Regions from separate parts of the Homo sapiens genome. Here region 2 is linked to region 1. Evidence: promoter capture Hi-C in 16 types of primary human blood cells and fetal thymus (Javierre and others, 2016). All regions are on one chromosome and are shown on one strand. Each heading gives the region's core, a stretch centred on a gene start or on the middle of the fragment in contact. The rest is flanking DNA. Distances are from core to core; before and after follow the strand shown.

Region 1 (6,227 bases), core at 3,670-6,169:
TCTGCTCATCCATGAGAAGTAACTCCTCATCCACTCAAGTTGTATCATGAGATATCATGCAGCAATTCAATCACATGCTCAGGCTCCACTTCTAGTTCTCTTGCTATTCCCATGACATCTGCAGTTACTTTTTCCAATGAAGTCTTGAACCCCTCAAAGTTATCCATTGGAGTTGGAATCTAATTCTTCCAAACTCTTGTTAATGTTGATATCTTGACCTCCTCCCATGAATCATGAATGTTCTTAATAGCATCTAGAATGGTTTCAATTTACTTTGCCCAGATCCATCAGAAGAATCACTATCTATGGCAGATATAGCCTTATGAAATGTATTTCTTAAATAACAAGACTTAAAAGTCAAAACTGATTGGGCATGGTGGCTCACGCCTATAATCCTAGCACTTTGGGAGGCCAAGGCAGGCAGATTGCTTGAGCACAGGAGTTCAAAAACAGCCTGGGCAACACAGCAAAAACCCATCTCTACTAAAAATACAAAAAATTAGCAGGGTATGGTAGCACACACCTTAAGTCCCAGCTACTTGGCAGGTTGAGGTAGGAGGATTGCTTGAGCCTGAAAGGTGGAGGTTGCAGTGAGATGAGATCATGCTACTGCACTACAGCCTGAGAGGCAGAGTGAGACCCTGTTTCAAAAAAAAAAAAAAATCAACTACTCAACTGGCTGCAGAATAGATGTTACATCAGCAGGCATGAAAACAACATTAAGGTTGGGCACAGGGGCTCATGTCTGTAATCCCAGAACTTTGGGAGGCAAAGGTAGGAGGATTGCTTGAGCCTAGGAATTCCAGGCCGGCCTGAGCAACACAGTGACCCCATCTCTCCAAAAATACATTTAAAAAAAAAGCCGGGCATGGTGCTCACGCCTGTAATCCCAACACTTTGGGAGGCCAAAGAGAGCAGATCACTTGAGGCCAGGAGTTCAAGACCAGCCTGGCCAATGTGGCAAAACCCCATCTCTACTAAAAATATAAAAATTAGCAGGGCATGATGGTGTGCACCTGTAATCCCAGCTACTTGGGTGGCTGAAGCAGGAGAATCACTCGAACCCGGGAAGCTGAGGTTGCAGTGAGCTGAGATTGTGCCACTACACTCCAGCATGGGAGACAGAGTGAAACTCCGTCTCAAACATAAATAAATAAGAAAAAAAAAAAAGAAAAATAATGGGTGGGTGCAGTGGCTCATGTCTGTAATCCTAGCACTTTGGGAGGCCAAGACAGGTGGATCGCTTGAGGTCAGGAATTTGAGACGAGCCTGGGCAACATGGTGAAACCCCATCTCTGCAAAAAATACAAAAAGTTAGCTGGGTGTAGTGGTGTGCACCTGTAGTTCAAGCTACTTGGGGAGCTGAGATGGGAGGATTGTTTGAGCCCAGGAAGTAGAGGCAGCAGTGAGCTGAGATCATACCAGTGCACTCCAGCCTGACAAAGTGAAACACTGTCTCAAAAAAGAAAAGAAAAAGGAAAAATATTGACCAGTGAGGTGGCTCAGGCCTGTAATCCCAGCACTTTGGAAGGGCTCACTTGAGCCCAGGAGTTCGAGATCAGCCTGGGCAACACAGTGACACCTCGTCTCTACCAAAAAGAAAAAAAAAAAACAAACCAAAACAAAACACACACATATAGATAGATAGACAGACAGATAATAGAGAGAGAAAGGAAAAAAAATTAGCTGGGCATGGTGGCATCTGTCTTTGTCCCAGCTATTCGGGAGGCTGAGGGAGGAAGGCTGCTCAAGCGCAGGAGATTAAGGCTGCAGTGAGCCATGATGGTGCCGCTGTACTTCACCCTGGGAGATAGAGCGAGACCCTGCCTCTAGAAAAAAAAAATGTTTCTGAGCAGTAGGTCTCAACAGTGGGCTTATTCAGTAAACCATGCTGTAAATAGATGTGCTGTCATCCAGGGCTTTGTTGTTCCATTTATAGATCACAGGCAGAGTAGATTTAGCATAAGTCTTAAGGGCCATTGGATTTTTAGAATAGTAAGTGAGAAATGGCTCAACTAGATGTCATAGATGGCATCTTCCAATGTAAGTCTGTTTCTTCTACCTTGAAAACCTATTGTTTAGTGTAGCCACCTTCATCAGTGAGCTTAGCTAGATCTTCTAGAAAACTTACTGCAGCTTCTACATCAGCACTTGCTGCTTCACCTTGTACTTTATTATGGAGATGGCTTCTTTTCTTCCTTTTTTTTTTTTTGAGACAGAGTTTCACTCTTGTTGCCCAGGCTGGAGTGCAATAGCGCGATCTCAGCTCACTGCAACCTCCACCTCCCGGGTTCAAGTGATTCTCCTGCCTCAGCCTCCCAAGTACCTGGGATCACAGGCATGCTCCACCACGCCCAGCTAATTTTGTATTTTTAGTAGAGACGAGATTTCTCCATGTTGGTCCTCAGGTGATCCGCCCGTCTTGGCCTACCGAAGTGCTGGGATCACAGGCATGAGCCACCGCGTCCGGCCGATGGCTTCTTTTCTTAAAAGAACCTCTGCTAGCTTCCAAATTTTCTTCTGCAACTTCCTCACCTCTCTTAGGCTTCAAAGAATTGAAGACTTAGGGCCTTGCTCTGGATAAGGTTTTGGCTTAAGGGAATGTTATGGCTGGTTTGATCTATCCAGACCACTAAAACATTCTCCATATCATCAAGGTTGTTTCACTTTCTTATCACTTGTGTATTCACTGGAGTAGCACTTTTAGTTTCCTTCAAGAACTTTTCCTCTGCACTCACAACTTGGCTGTTTGGCACAATGGGCCTAGCTTTCAGCCCGTCTTGGCTTTCAGGATGCCTTCCTCATCAAGCTCAATCATTTCTAGCTTTTGATTTAAAGTCAGAGATATGTGACTCTTCCTCTCACTTGAACACTTAGATGCCACTGTAGGGCTATTAATTGGCCTAACTTTATTATTGTATCTCAGTCAACAGCAAGGCCTGAGGAGAGGGAGAGAGATGATGGAACAGCTGGTTGATAGAGCAGTCAGAACACACAGCATTTATTAAGTTCACCATAGTGTTGCCCCAAAGCAATCAGAATAGTAGTATCAAAGATCACTGATTACAGATCATAACAAATATAATAGCAATGAAAAAGTGTGAAATATTTCAAGATTTACCAAAATGTAACACAGACACAAAATGAGCACATGATGTTAGAAAAATGGCATTGATAGAGTTGCTCAATGGAGAGTTACCGCAGCCTTCAATTTGTAAAAAAAATGAAAATGCAGTATCTGTGAAGTGCAATAAAGCAAAGTACAAAAAATGAGGTATTCCTGTACATGTGCTGCCAAAGTGAGCGCTATATACATTCTTAACCTGGACCAAGAGCAGTATTCAAAATAACAACTCTGGCCAGGCACGGTGGCTCATGCCTGTAATCCCAACATTATGGGAGGCCGAGGCAGGTGGATCACTTGAGGTCAGGAGATTTGAGATCAGCCCTCCGCCATCATGGTGAAACCCCATCTCTACTAAAAATACAAAAATTAGCCTGGCGCGGTGGTGCAAGCCTGTAATCCCAGCTACTCCGGAGGCTGAGGCAGGAGAATCGTTTGAACCCGGGAGGCAGAGGTTGCAGTAAGCTGAGATCGTGCCACTGTACTCCAGCCTGGGTGACAGAGTGGGACGAGACTGTCTCAAAAAAAAAAAAAATAACAAACAAAAAAAACAACTCTGAGGATACATTTCTAGCCTGAGGCAACTAAAGCAAGAAATAATCTTATGCACAGACCTACAGTTAATCATTTTACTGAATCTACATATACATTCCACTTACATGATTACATATACGCATCAGTATGGACTTACATTCTATACATATGACTCTCCCATATTCAACAAGAGATCACCAAGAGCCTGAATCAAAGGATACCAATAAAACAAACCCTAAACTAGGAAGTGGGAGGGAAAGGAGAAAAGGGATGAGGGAGAAAAAGAAAAAAGAGGAAGGATGAAGGGAAGGCGGAAGCCAATATTAATAAATACTGAGTACCTACTGTATACACACCACCATTTCATGGTTGCTTCTTGGTTTCCACGCTTTCAGTCTTGGCCCTACATCCATTTTTTACACAGCAGTCTAACTGTGGTCTTCGAAACCCTGTGTTATCTGTCCCCAGTGCACCCCATGCTGTGCCACTCCTCTCCCTCAATGCTCTGCAGCCACAAGGGGCACTTTCTGTTCCTAGAATGCTCTGACTTCTTTCCTGCCACAGGGCCTTTGAACTTACTCTTTCCTATGCCTGAACTGCTTTCCACATCACTTATTCTTTTTCATTTTTTGAATTTCAACTCAAACATCACCTTCTAAAGGAATAGCGCACAGCCACTTAGTAACCCTCTATTTCCTTTATCACAATCTGAAAAGTTCCTGTTTGTCTAGCTCCACCCACCAACTTCGAGGGCAAGGACCAGCAATGTCTTGCTCACCACCGCATCTCCCGGGAGTTAGAACGGTACCTGGCACCTCAGGCATCTGATAATACTGGCTGAATGGCTGTTGGAGGCAGAGGTTCTTAACTGCCTATTAAGGATGAGGACCCTGAGGTTCAGAAACGTTAAAGTGATTTGTTCCAAATCAGACAGCGCCAGGTCTGAACCTAGCCAGCTGGGGCTAAGTCAAGTAACAACTGGCGAAACAGAAAGCTTAGCAAAGGCAGGATAGCGACAAACACGACCTAAAGTTTTCTCTTCATACCCAGGGATATCCACACCTTTCTCTCCCGCCCTGACCGACCGCGGGGCCTCCCCGCCCAGCCCCTGGCCGTGCGAGTCCCTTACTATGTGGGGATGAGAAGGCATTTGAGAAGAGTCACCCCGAGCGCCAAAGCCGAAAACCAATTGCCAGTACCCGTGGCAATTGTGAGCGCCGCCATTGCTGCGGCACCGCACGCTTCCCACCAACTTGATCCACATCCGGGATCCCGCGCATGCGGAGAAAGCCCTCTGAAGCCGTGCCCGCTAGCTGCGCGCATGCGGCGAGCGGCGCAGCCAGTCCGGGGACTGCAGTCAGCTATTTAAACCTCCCGCCCACCTTTTCTTTAGACCCGCGTCTCACCCCGGGCCGGAAGGGCTCCTGCGCAGGCGTTTGTAGCCACTTTTAAGTTTTATCAGCTAGTTCATGCTTGCGTTGAAAGAGTGGTCGTTTGCGCTGGGTCATCACTGTGTAGTATTGGGGATACTTAGGTGAGAAAAAAACTTAACGCTAGAGACGTTCACGCACTAGTGGAGAAGCCAGGATTGTTGCCCTAGAGTTACAGTAGATAAAAGTACCTCAGAGAACTGCGGGGGCTCCCAACCTGGACGCTTGCACCGGAGTATTAAATCCAGCTAGAGAATGGCATGTGCAAAGATACAGAGGTGAGAAACATTGTGTTTTTAGAACTCTGAGCGAGGCTCTTGGCTCACCTCCTGCTTGAGCGGAACCCATTCTGGAAGCAGGGTAGAGGCTAGTCCTAACGCTTAGTGTACAAATAGCCTACGGTTCATGTTAAAATAATTCGGATTCTGATTCAGTAGGCCCAACAAACTCGCAGATTGCGTAATGACTGAGGCACATGCAATTTAATTAGGCTTGTCTCATTATTTTACTGTATGATCTTGGACAAACTAAACTCTAAACCTCAGTTTCTTTTTTTAAAATTTTTATTTATTTATTTATTTTTGAAAATAGGAGATAAAAATGGTTTCTGGCCGGACGCGGTGGCTCACGCCTGTAATCCCAACACTGGGAGGCCGAGGTGGGCGAATCACCTGAGTTCAGGAGTTTGAGATCAGCCTGGCCAATATGGTGAAACCCTGTCTCTACTAAAAATTAAAAAAAAATTAGCCGTGCATGGTGGCGGGCGCTTGTAATTCCACCTACTCGGGAGGCTGAAGCTAGAGAATCGCGTGAACGTGGGAGGCGGAGGTTGCAGTGAGCTGAGATCGCGCCATTGCACTTCAGCCTGGGCAAGCCTCAGGCCTGTTTATCCAAGATGCTTTTGGTCTAAAAAAAAAAAAGTTTCAGCCTCATAAACTGGTTGTGAGGATTAAATGAGAATGCATGTAAATTGCTTGATATGATTCCAGGACAGAATAAATGCTCAATAATGTGTCAGATCAGTTAATTATCTTGCTGAAAGATGCACAGCAAGTAGGTGACAGTGTCACCTCCCTAATATGAGTTTATGCCCTCCCACAGCTTCAGCTGCCACCCATGTGAATATGATTCACAGATTT
Region 2 (6,228 bases), core at 3,088-5,587, 230 kb after region 1:
TTCAGTAAGAAATGTCTTTTAAATTGTAGCACAGTATCTATAAATACAATGAACTTAAAAGTTTCAATAAATATCCTTAACTGGACACAATACATGCTACTTTTTGTATACTATTTTACTTTGAAAATACTGGTAGCAACTCATTACCATTGATTTCATCACCTACGAATAGAGCTCAATCCCCATTTTGTAAAATGCTTATTGCTTGCAGTGGTTATTCTACCTCTAGCTTCTCACTTAATAGCCATCCCCCCAAATTCCTCTCCAAACATATTACTAACAACTATGATAGCAAATGCTGTGATAGGCCTTGAGTTTGCTATATGTGTTTAAGTTCTTCAAAAAAGCATAAACCAGGGATTTTATCAAACTTTCCTGAGAAATTTTCCCCAAACTATACATATTTACTACATATCTACTGATATCAGAAGATTCAGTAGATACAGAGTGAGATTTGGACATATGTAATGTTGGGAAAAGCTTCCCAGGTAATAGCACCTTTTTAAAAATATATATATATACGTCTATATAGTATTTTGCAAGTAGGTGGCAATGCTATGCTTGAAATACAAGGGTGGGAATGGCTGCAGTCATTTTTTTTATTTCAACAGGGTTTTGGGGAACAGGTGTTATTTGGTTACATGAATAAGATCTTTAGTGGTGACTTCTGAGATTTTAGTGTACCTGTCACCCCAAGGTGATAGCAACTTAATGATCTGAGGTCCCTTCCACTGTTATGAAACAAATATTTGTGTAGGAAAAGGAGTCTGGTAACGGACTAGACACAGACAAGAAAATGAAATCTCAGATAAGCAGAGGGACTTAAGTGTGATTAAAAAGCCACCAGTAAGGCAGGCATTAGAATCCAGCTCACCTGATTGCCAGTCCATTTCAGAAAGTTCCCACTAGGAAAATGAAGTCTCCCTATCAGTGTCCCTTCTCCTTCTGCAGTGACCTTTTCTTTATCAGAAACTCCCCAGGGCACCTTGGCTTACTAAATGCTAATTAGATTTCCTCCACCTGCTCTGGGATTTAGAGGGCAGTGCTAATGCAGCGCCCTCCTCAACTAACAAAGCCACTGGCATTCCTGGTATGCAGGGGCTGGCCTCCAGTTTAGTCAACATCAATTAAAGGGCTCCTATCCAAAGCCCTAAGGAGGAAGACAGAAAAGGGAGGGGTATTCCTTGATCCAAAAAATGAAGTACAGTCACTGATTGGGATTGATTGTTACTGTGGAGCTGGGTGGGACCAGGGAAAATTCTGGGAGGTAGGAATGGAATCTGGGTGAGGCAAGCAAACTGATGACCATTCATCATCTTCTCACTCCCCCAAGGAATGCTATTGTTGAGCTTGAGGGGATGAAGCCTTGGATCGCAAAAAGCCTTCATCCAAAAATAACTTAAGAAACACTTCCCTTTCTCTTCTTGTTTCAATACACAGGTCCAAATTCCGCAGTCCAGAATGACAAGTCCTCCATAATTCTATCCCGCTCTATGGAGGCATCAGAATTTCGTGAATATTCAGCCACTAACTGGCAAAGTTCAGCCTGGATGTTCAGCCATTAACTGCTGTGTAATTATGGACCAGTTACAGTTTTCTCTGGGCTTTGATTTTTCTCATTTGCAGCACTCAGTTGATTTCAAAATTAAATAAGACAATGAATATACATATGTTTTATAAACTATAAGGTGGTGTAGAGTTCTAATACAACTCCTAACACAAACTCAATTCAATGCAAACATTTACTGAGTTCCTAGAATAGTGTTTATACAGAGTTGGCACACAAACATTATCAAGTATTAGCTGTTAGATGCACAAAAACCATACCGAGTTCTTAATGATAGGGAAATCACAGTCCAGTGTAGGAGACAAGCTCTTTAACATAATATGATGAGTACTAAAATAGGCTGGGCACAGTGGCTCACGCCTGTAATCCCAGCACTTTGGGAGGCCGAGGCAGGTGGATCACCTGAGGTCAGGAGTTCAAGGCCAGCCTGGCCAACATGGCGAAATTAGATTTCCGTCTCTACTAAAAATACAAAAATTAGCCAGGTACAGTGGTGCATGTCTGTAGTCCCAGCTACTTGGGAGGCTGAGGCAGGAGAATTGCTTGAACCCAGGAGGTGGAGGTTGCAGTAAACTGAGATCACACCACTGTATTCCAGGCTGGGCGACAGAGCAAGACTCCATCTCAAAAAAAAAAAAAAAAAAAAAAAAGATGAGTACTAAAATAGAATATGCACAAAGTGAGGATGGGGGGTTAATTTACCCTGCTACCAAAGAGCAGGGGTTAAGGATTATCAAAAACCTTCTATATTCACTATATTTTCTCCAAGCCCTATCCCCAATTACATTCTATTCCCCATCCAGACTATGATGGCGAATAGAATGTAATTGGGGATAGGGCTTGGAGAAAATATAGTGGAGAAGCAACTCAAATGGTTGCTTCTCAAATGATCCTCCAGAACAACATATTCATTAGAATCTCCCCATCTTTATTCACAAAGTTACATGAGAAATTTTAAAAACCCACTAACCATCCAAGGAGTATTTAAGCTTCCATTATGTGCAAGGTATTCTTAAGGATGCAAAAAAATACAAGACAGGTCCCTGAACCCAATGAATTTACCATCTAGCAAGGGAGATAAGTCATATACAAAATTATGATACTAAGGTATATTCCTGAGCCATACAGTATCTCAGGGGTAAAGGGGAACATAGCTCAAATATCTGGAGGAGCTCCAAATTGAAAACTTCTGTTTTCTTTTCCCCCATCAACTTGGACCAAGAGTCACAAATACATTCTTCCTCCATCTAGCAATATCCTTTAACCTACTTTGTGCCAGACAACATTCTGGTCATGAGAAAAAAGCAATGAACAAAACAGACAAAAATCCTGCCTTCGAAGGGCATATGGTCTGGAAGTGTAAAGGGTCAGGTAGGTACATATATGAGTGACTGGTGTGTGCATGTATGTGTGCGTGCGTGCATGTGATACAGCAGACTAGAAAGCATATGCTTTGGCTTAAATGGAAAGCTACCACCCAGTTCCAGCTAATTGCTGCTAGGCAGAAATTTGGGCCCAGTGTTCCCAGATCTGGAAGCTGGACATTTTACGGATTTTATGTAAGAGATCTCAGCTTTTAACAATCTACGACTAATTAAAAGTGTTTAAAACACTGCAGGCCAAGCAAAACACTTTATAGATGGAATTCAGGCTAAAGATACCAGTCTATAATCTGTCTTAGAACATGTATCATGATTTTTGGCTTAGAGATGCAGTCACTTCATATAGTGTTATAAACCAAGTGCTACTGGGCTGCAGGCAGAAGATCCAGCCTCTCAGCCAGTATTAAGGAGGTGAGAGCATTTAGCCTGAGCTCCTTCAGAAAACATCTCAGAATATGTCAGTGCTTAATTTTCTTTTTCTTTTTTTTTTTTTTTTTTTTTGAGACGGAGTCTTGCTCTTCCCCCCAGGCAGTGGCGCTATCTCTGCTCACTGCAAGCTCCGCCTCCCGGATTCACGCCATTCTCCTGCCTCAGCCTCCCGAGTAGCTGGGACTACCGGCACCCGCCACTGCGCCCGGCTAATTTTTTGTATTTTTAGTAGAGACGGGGTTTCACCGTGTTAGCCAAGATGGTCTCAATCTCCTGACCTCGTGATCCGCCCGCCTCGGCCTCCCAAAGTGCTGGGATTACAGGCGTGAGCCACTGCGCCCGGCTGTCAGTGCTTAATTTTCTATTCTTTGTTCACTTCTCACAGCACTTACTGGCCACATCCATGAGTTGCCACATGCTGAGGTATTTCTTTGCTAAGAATGGCAAGACCATTTTGTTCAACCAGGAAGTCCATGAACAGCAACTCAACCAATGCATCTGCCTTGATGGTTTGATTATTCAACAGATTAATACTGTTCATGAATATGATTAATTCTGATCTACTCTATAATAGGCTTGCTATTTAGAAATATAGTAAACTTCTGTCACCTGAAATTCTCAAGTGAGGGACTTTATGTAAATTATCCTGGACAAAAAAATTTCCTATAGTTAAATCACGTTTGTGCAGAAGTCACTGAAATACAGTACTGATGGCTGAAAAGCAAGCTACAAATTAAATATATAAATTACTACACAAATAGTCACAATACAAACAAATGTTTTAATAAAAATAGAAACAAAGCATACTACACGAAGGAAGAATTTCACTAAATACTAGTGCATACCAAATGAGAAAAGGAACAATTAACCCTAATAAAAGCTGGTCTTTCACTACATATGTTTGTAACAGAACTACACAGCATGTTAACAAACTGAAAAAAAAAAGACAAGACAGCAAAAATAAACTCTATAGGTTTAAATCTTCAACTTCAGACCCCAGAAAAGCATCTTTAAAGTCAGATAAGTCCAGGCATGGCGGCTCATGCCTATAACCCCAGCACTTTGGGAGGCTGAGGTGGGAGAATTGCTTGAGGCTAGGAGTTTGAGACCAGCCTGGGAAACACAGCGAGACCCCATCGCTACAAACAAATTTTTTAAAAATTAAAAAATTTTTTAATTTGTTTAAAATTAATAAATTTACTTATTAAATAAATTTATATTTACGGGCATGGTGGCATGTGCCTGTAGTCCCAGCTACTCAGGAGGCTGAGGTGGGAGGATCACTTGAGCCCAGGAGGTCAAGGCTGCAGTGAGCAATGATTGTACCACTGCACTCCAGCCTGGGTGACAGAGTGACAGAGACCCTGTCTCAAAAAAAAAAAAAAAAAAAGTCAGATAAGTAATTCTCAATGCCAGGAAAATTTATCATCCCTGCTGGTCTCCAGTTCATTGTATTAATCAATGGCAATCATTGCATTAGAAACTTGGTCACCCTGTCTTCAAAATATGGTGCTGTTGCCTTTTAACTGGGTTAGTTTACAGTGTATATAAACTTAATGATCAATCAGTGCCTCTACTGTATTTGAGCCATGACTTACTGTAGCAAAGTTAAAATCTAAAATGTAATGGAATAGCTCAAATATACCTCTGATCAGCTGTGTGGCCTATGGTTTCTTTTGGTTACCAAAATCTGGGATGTGAAACTTGCATCCCTTATACAGTGTTTTGTGTTCCCATTCTTTCTCATTAGAAGAGTCGCCTAAGGGCAGATTATCTTGCTATTAGTTTTGCTTTGGCCCAGAGTCTTTCATCTGCAAAACAGGTGTGTTGGTCACAAGGTAGTATCTGAATAAAAATTTTCAGGGGGAGAAATATATCTTACATACCAACAAGTTTAAAAAATCCAAAGGCATTTATAAGGATGGTCATTTCAGCACATTTTTTAAGTAAATAAAATACTGTAACTGCTTATCAACTGGTCAGGTTGGTTAAATTACAGTAGTATACTCGGACACTACTATAAAGATAATGAGAAAAGCTGAGCTTCATGAGCGCCCCCAGAACGTTATTCACCTAAAGGTTATCACCAGATGATGGCATCTGGCGTGGGGTTTTTTGTTTGTTTGTTTTAGCATTTCTTGATTTATAACGAACATGTACCATTTTAACAAAAGCAATAATCTTTCCTTTAAAAAAGAAAATACTGGCCGGGCGCGGTGGCTCACGCCTGTAATCCCAGCACTTTGGGAGGCCGAGGCGGGCGGATCACGAGGTCAGGAGATCGAGACCATCCCGGCTAAAACGGTGAAACCCCGTCTCTACTAAAAATACAAAAAATTAGCCGGGCGTAGTGGCGGGCGCCTGTAGTCCCAGCTACTTGGGAGGCTGAGGCAGGAGAATGGCGTGAACCCGGGAGGCGGAGCTTGCAGTGAGCTGAGATCCCGCCACTGCACTCCAGCCTGGGCGACAGAGCGAGACTCCGTCTCAAAAAAAAAAAAAAAAAAGAAAAGAAAATACAATTGACCTATATATGCAAATACGGAACTACACTCATGGTTTATTTTATCTCACAGGATTTTGGTGCACATTAATCATATGGTAGTATTCAAATATTACCTGATTTATGCTAAGTGAAAAATAACAAGGTATAAAACAGGGCAAACAGGGCAAGGGTCTGTGATGGGCAAGATGTTTTTTATTGACTACTATTGTGCCCAGGTTCTAGAAAACAGTCTGGAGCAAAGCTTACCTGTTTATCATGTGTTGCAATCTCAGAGCAGAGAGTGGGGAAAGACTGGTAGGAAAGAATAGGAGGGAAAGGAAACCAAGGCTATATGCATCAACAAACCC

Evidence for each region. The method cuts DNA at HindIII sites, captures the fragments that hold promoters and counts their contacts. A CHiCAGO score of 5 or more calls a contact.
Region 2: a fragment that was not itself captured here is called in contact with the fragment with the promoter of ALG8 in region 1 in 3 of 17 cell types (neutrophils, total CD4 T cells and activated CD4 T cells); the score reaches 5.8 in neutrophils.

Annotation. Positions count from the first base shown.
Region 1 is chr11:78,134,707-78,140,933 of GRCh38, forward strand. ALG8 (ALG8 alpha-1,3-glucosyltransferase) reads right to left here and starts at 4,920. Exons shown (of 13, transcript NM_024079.5): 1 at 4,788-4,920. The coding sequence starts at 4,882. KCTD21-AS1 (KCTD21 antisense RNA 1) reads left to right here and starts at 5,087. Exons shown (of 3, transcript NR_102281.1): 1 at 5,087-5,366. RefSeq lists enhancers at 4,503-4,612, 4,693-4,772, 5,383-5,492, 5,653-6,227. The HindIII fragment of the contact is 5,506 bases long and covers 4,651-6,227 here.
Region 2 is chr11:78,364,393-78,370,620 of GRCh38, forward strand. The region is part of intron 1 of GAB2 (GRB2 associated binding protein 2); the gene reads right to left. Among named protein-coding and RNA genes, the nearest start is that of GAB2, 50 kb to the right of the region's middle. RefSeq lists enhancers at 724-1,636, 5,786-6,228. The HindIII fragment of the contact is 3,566 bases long and covers 2,555-6,120 here.